2 separate regions of the Homo sapiens genome follow, and region 2 is linked to region 1. Evidence: promoter capture Hi-C in 16 types of primary human blood cells and fetal thymus (Javierre and others, 2016). All regions are on one chromosome and are shown on one strand. Each heading gives the region's core, a stretch centred on a gene start or on the middle of the fragment in contact. The rest is flanking DNA. Distances are from core to core; before and after follow the strand shown.

The links. The method cuts DNA at HindIII sites, captures the fragments that hold promoters and counts their contacts. A CHiCAGO score of 5 or more calls a contact.
Region 2: a fragment that was not itself captured here is called in contact with the fragment with the promoter of ITFG1 in region 1 in 1 of 17 cell types (neutrophils); the score reaches 7.8 in neutrophils.

Annotation. Positions count from the first base shown.
Region 1 is chr16:47,459,722-47,462,485 of GRCh38, reverse strand. ITFG1 (integrin alpha FG-GAP repeat containing 1) reads left to right here and starts at 1,423. Exons shown (of 18, transcript NM_030790.5): 1 at 1,423-1,648. The coding sequence starts at 1,441. PHKB (phosphorylase kinase regulatory subunit beta) reads right to left here and starts at 1,155. Exons shown (of 31, transcript NM_000293.3): 1 at 1,060-1,155. The coding sequence starts at 1,135. RefSeq lists a silencer at 1,045-1,514. The HindIII fragment of the contact is 8,409 bases long and covers 1-2,764 here.
Region 2 is chr16:48,616,146-48,618,909 of GRCh38, reverse strand. No RefSeq gene overlaps it. Among named protein-coding and RNA genes, the nearest start is that of N4BP1, 7.3 kb to the right of the region's middle. RefSeq lists a silencer at 918-1,212. The HindIII fragment of the contact is 5,376 bases long and covers 1-2,764 here.

The DNA.
Region 1 (2,764 bases), core at 174-2,673:
ATTTTTGTATTTTTAGTAGAGATGGGGTTTTACCAGGTTGGCCAGGCTGGTCTCGAACTCCTGACCTCAGGTGATCCGCCCGCCTCGGCCTCCCAAAGTGCTGGGATTACAGGCGTGAGCCACCGCGCCCGTCCGAAAATAATTTCTTAATATCAATGCAAGTGCAAAGTTAATTTTCCTAGCTAACACCTTTCACACCCACCCCCAATAATGACACTTCATCAATTCTTTAAAAGGGAAGCTCCTTAGCTGAAAACCTGCATTCCGCCTTTCACCTTTCCTGTTTAAGTGCATGCCTTTTGTTCAAGATTATATCCAGCCAACCAGGAATACAGGAAGTTTTAATAACGCCACAAGTCATGACGTTGCAATTTGAACAAGTCAGTTCGGGACACTTGGAACTGTTAAAACTGCCTGCAAGGCACCTTCTGACCTCTATGCTTTCGGGTTTGGAAACCACACAACCTGGGGCCACTTAAGAAGCCCTTTTCTTTCTGGGCCCTAACTATACTCTTCAATATCTGAGGCCCAGTCTCCTTCAGTTTCTGCTAGATAGATGACAGGTCTACTGCTTAGAACCTGTGGGGAATGTAAAAGGGATATAAGACATAAAGCAAGGAGCCCAGACGCCGGCTTTCTGCAGCCAGATCGTAGTTACATCTGACTTGGTCTGATTAAGCTATCTGACTTTTGCAGAGAACATTCACAGGAAAGACACATTCACAGGGAAGACACATTCCCTTTCCCAGGAATGTGCCGCCGCCCGATTTTTAAGTTAGAAGACTCTAAGGGAAGTCCGGACCGCTGCCTACTTTCCGAGTGGGGCTCACAAGCGGAATAGAGTCGGGGGCACACGCAGAGTGGAGCTGGCTCTGCCACCTAATTTTTAGAGGTGGAGGAAGATATTAGAAACAAGGCCAGGGCCGCCACCTGCTTTCTAAGGAGGAACTCGGGGCACAGGTTCATTCCCAGGGCCCCCACCTGCCTCCCGCCAAGGCGCTTGAGGCGAAGCACCACCCAAGGTACTCGGGTGGGGGGCGGCGCCCCAGCCAGCCAAACCTGAGCGCTTGGTCCGAGCTCTTCGCTCCAAGACCTTCCAGCTCACTTCTGCCGTGAGTCCCGCCGCCCCCGCCATCGCGCTCCGGTCGCCGCCTTGGCCACCGCCCCCGGGGCCGCCTGTCAGCAATGCCGGGCCACGCCCCCCGCACGACACTGTCGGGAGGCGCGCCTGCCGGAAGTGAGCGTGAGGGCGGCTTTCACCCTAGCTCCACTGCTTTTTTAGCGTCGGAAGGGCAGCCCTAGTGGGAGAGAGAAAAAGGAGCCGGCAGCGGCTCTTACGCGTCCCGGGGCTGCGCGCCACTCTCTCGGCCGGTAACGCGGTGCTTTGCGGCTGTCGTCAAGCGCGGCGTTGGGCCGGCGGGCGGGGGCTGAGGGGCTGCCATGGCGGCGGCGGGCCGGCTCCCGAGCTCCTGGGCCCTCTTCTCGCCGCTCCTCGCAGGGCTTGCACTACTGGGAGTCGGGCCGGTCCCAGCGCGGGCGCTGCACAACGTCACGGCCGAGCTCTTTGGGGCCGAGGCCTGGGGCACCCTTGCGGCTTTCGGGGACCTCAACTCCGACAAGCAGACGGATCTCTTCGTGCTGCGGGAAAGTCAGTGCTTGCCGGGCCCTCCCTCTGTTCGCTGTCCGTGTGCCTCTCCCGGTGTTCCCCAAACCCATTGCCCAATGGCCGGTCCTTCTGCATTTCCTGGTCCTTCTCTCCCAGCCCTGTGGCCTTCCCTTTAGCATTCTTAACAGCTTGTCCTTTTGCACCACCCTTTCCAACCCCAGGTTCTGACCCAGCTACCCTACAGTTTGACCTACCCTCAAAAGCCCTGACAGCACCTCAGTTTTGTTCCTAAGAAGTCTGCGGCCCTCACCCAGTCACCTTACCCCCTCCTCCCCATGGAATCACCTGTTTTCCAAAGTGCTTCCTGATTCCTAGGAATCTTTGTAGCTTGCCTCAACGTTCGCTCCCAAGGCCCACTCATTCCTTTCTATTTTGCTTCAGTCTTCCTTCCCCGTTGATGAACATGAAAAGGTGCAACCTGACAATCTCTTCTCATAGGGGGCTTCTTCTTGCCTCCCCACCTACCTAATTCGCCCACCCCTTTCTTTGTCAAGGCCACAACTTTCTATGAAGCGAATGTACCCTTCCAAGGGCCTAAACACTAAACAGCTCACACAAGCATTTTGCAGGGACCACTGATAAACCCAATGCCTCCTTGGGAAAGCAGTCTCAAACTACAGAAATTTCTCTCTTGAGCTGCCTGTTCTTTCGTGTACTCCTTCCTCATCTTGGTCATCACCTTAGTGTTCCAAATGTCTACTTTCTTTGCTAACTTGTTCTTGGAAATTCTTTGCTTTGACAATCGTTAAACTAACTTTTTTGTAAATCTTGATGCTGACAGTGGGCATTAGGGGGTCTTAGGGTTCTTGAGTACCTACAGAAGCAGGTGCTGCTTAAAGATCAATGCTGTGAAGGAAGGAAGGAAGAGCTACTCAGAGCTTGCCTGACAGGATCCTGAACCAGACTTCTTGGAGCCCTTGCGGGGATGCAGGAACCTCTTACAAACCCTGAATATTTTCCCAATCTTTTTGACTCCTCATTTTGCAGTGTACTGCCAAACCTGTTGCTGCTGTGTCCAAACTGGATACAGAGAGTAGCCTTGACTTTAAAGATGGCCTGTGTTTGATTAAACAATTCCAAAAGTCTGTCTCAATGAGT
Region 2 (2,764 bases), core at 93-2,592, 1.2 Mb before region 1:
GACAGAGTCTTGTACTCTCACCCAGGCTGGAGTGCAGTGGTACAATCTTGGCTCACTGCTGCCTCCACCTCCTAGGTTCAAGTTATTCTCCTGCCTCAGCCTTCTGAGTAGCTGGGATTACAGGTGCACACCACTGCACTTGGCTAATTTTTGTATTTTTAGTAAAGACAGGGTTTAGGCCGGGCTCGGTGGCTCACGCCTGTAATCCCAGCACTTTGGGAGGCCGAGGCGGGCAGATCATGAGGTCAGGAAATCGAGACCATCCTGGCTAACAGGGTGAAACCTTGTCTCTACTAAAAATACAAAAAATTAGCTGGGTGTGGTGGCGGGCGCCTGTAGTCCCAGCTACTCAGGAGGCTGAGGCAGGAGAATGGCGTGAACCTGGGAGGCGGAGCTTGCAGTGAGCCGAGATTGGGCCACTGCACTCCAACCTGGGTGACAGAGAGAGACACTGTCTCAAAAAAAAAGAAAAAAAAAAAAAGACAGGGTTTCACCATGTTGGCTGGGTTGGTCTCGAACTCCTGACCTCAGGTGATCCGCCCGCCTCAGCCTCCCGAAGTGCTGGGATTACAGCCATGAGCCACTGTCCCCAGCCTAATTTTTTATGATCTTTTGCAGAGATGGGCGGGGGAGGGTCTTGCTATGTGCCCCATGCTGGTCTTGAACTTCTGGGCTCAAGCAGTCCACCCACCTCAGCTTCCCAAAGTGCTAGGATTACAGGCATGAGCCACTGCACCTGGCTGAATGCTGAATTATTAGCTCAGCCCTAGGGGCAGGGCTTTCTCTGAATTATCTCTGTAGAACAATCATTTTCAACTGGGGACAGTTTTGACATTAGACAATGTCTGGTGAGGTTTTCTTGTCACACCGGGTGTAGGGGAGTGGTTGTTATTGGCATCTAGTGAGTAGAGGATAGGGATTCTGCTAAACATCCTACAATTCACAAGACAGGTCCCTACAACAAAGAATTATCTCACCCAAAATGTCAATTGTGCCCCTGTTGAGAAATCCTAGCTGTAGAGGGTGATGGGAAAATGCTTTGAATTAGAAACATTTGGGAGCTGGCAGACTGCCGACAATCTCTGTAGTAGCACTTGGCAGAGAGCTGCATTCCCACCTAAGGACTGCGTGTTATAAATAGCTCCTCTCGGTATTGTGGCAGTTGTAGCAGTTTGAATCAATGTCAGAGGAGTTTCAATACATGGATAATAAAAATGCAAAGGAAATATATAAAGGGAGAGAATAAGAGACTAGAAGCAGCAGACGCATTGAGGTTTTCCTGCAGCTAAGGAGAAGCACGCCCTCCACGCTTGAATGCAGAGATTCTTCCTCCAAAATAGCTCTCAGATTCCTCCACTCCCTCCCCACTGCAACTTCCCTGGTCCAAGCCCCCATCCTCTGGCACCTAGACCAATACTGCCACTGGGAAGAAAAAAGAAAAAATATATATATATATATTATATATATATATATTCCATCCAATCCCCTTTCTCAAACATGAAGGGGCTGGGTTTCCTCTTGGCATGGTAGCCAGGTTCCAAGTAAGACTATTTCACCAGCAAGTGTTCCATGAAAAAGGAAGTGGAGGCTTCCTTCTACTTCCAGCAAGAACACTTGCTGGTGAAATAGTCTTACTTTCTTACTTGGAACCTGGCTACCATGCCGAGAGAAGCCCAGCCCCTTCGTGGTTTTTTTTTTTTTTTTCTGAGACGGAGTCTCGCTCTGTCACCTAGGCTGGAGTGCACTGGTGCGATCTTGGCTCACTGCAAGCTCCGCCTCTTGGGTTCACGCCATTCTCCTGCCTCAGCCTCCCTGGTAGCTGGGACTATAGGCGCCCGCCACCACGCCCGGCTAATTTTGTTTTTGTATTTTCAGTAAAGATGGGGTTTCACCGTGTTAGCCAGGATGATCTTGATCTCCTGACCTCGTGATCCACCCCCCTTCATGTTTGAGAAAGGGGATTGGATGGAATTGCTGTGGTATGGAAGATATTCTATATAAACACATATATACCTATGTTCTTCCCAGTCTACTCTGGCCTCCTCCACGCTTTTTCCCCAGAGAAGGGAGACAGATCTTACAGCATAAATTAGATGATGCATTCACTGCTTAACCTGGGAACACCAGGGGCAGCAGCTCACTCCTACAATCCCAGAACTGTGGGAGGCCAAAGCAGAAGGGTTGCTTGAGGCTAGGAGTCCAGACCAGCCTGGGCAACATAGTGGGACCCCGTTTCTACAAAAAATTTAAAAATTAGTCAGGTGTGGTGATGCTCGTCTGTAGTCCTAGGTATTCAGACTGAGAGGCTGAGGCAGGAGGATCACTTGAGCCCAGGAGTTTGAGGCTGCAATGAGCTACGATGGCATCACTGCACTCCAGCCTGGGCAACAGAGCAAGTCCCTGTCTCAAAACAAAACAAAACCCGGGAAGACTTTTTTTCCTCATTATACTAAAATAAAATACAAAATCTGTAACAGGCCCACCACATGCATTCTGGAGGGTCTGGCCTTATCCTGTCTCTGGGTGTTTCTGGAGGGCTGCATCCTGCCCTGTCCCCTGTTCCTGGAATATGTCGAGCTCAGTTCGGCCTCAGATCACTGCCCCCATAGAGTTGACAGTCTGATGGTGGAGGTGGACCTGAGTCAATCCCATCACTCAAGCACACAAAAAACTGGCCCTGGTGCCACAAGTGACAGGACCACAGTGCCAAGAGCCTACAGCAGGAGACTTGGCTCATCAGAGAGACCAGTGAATGAATTCTTGA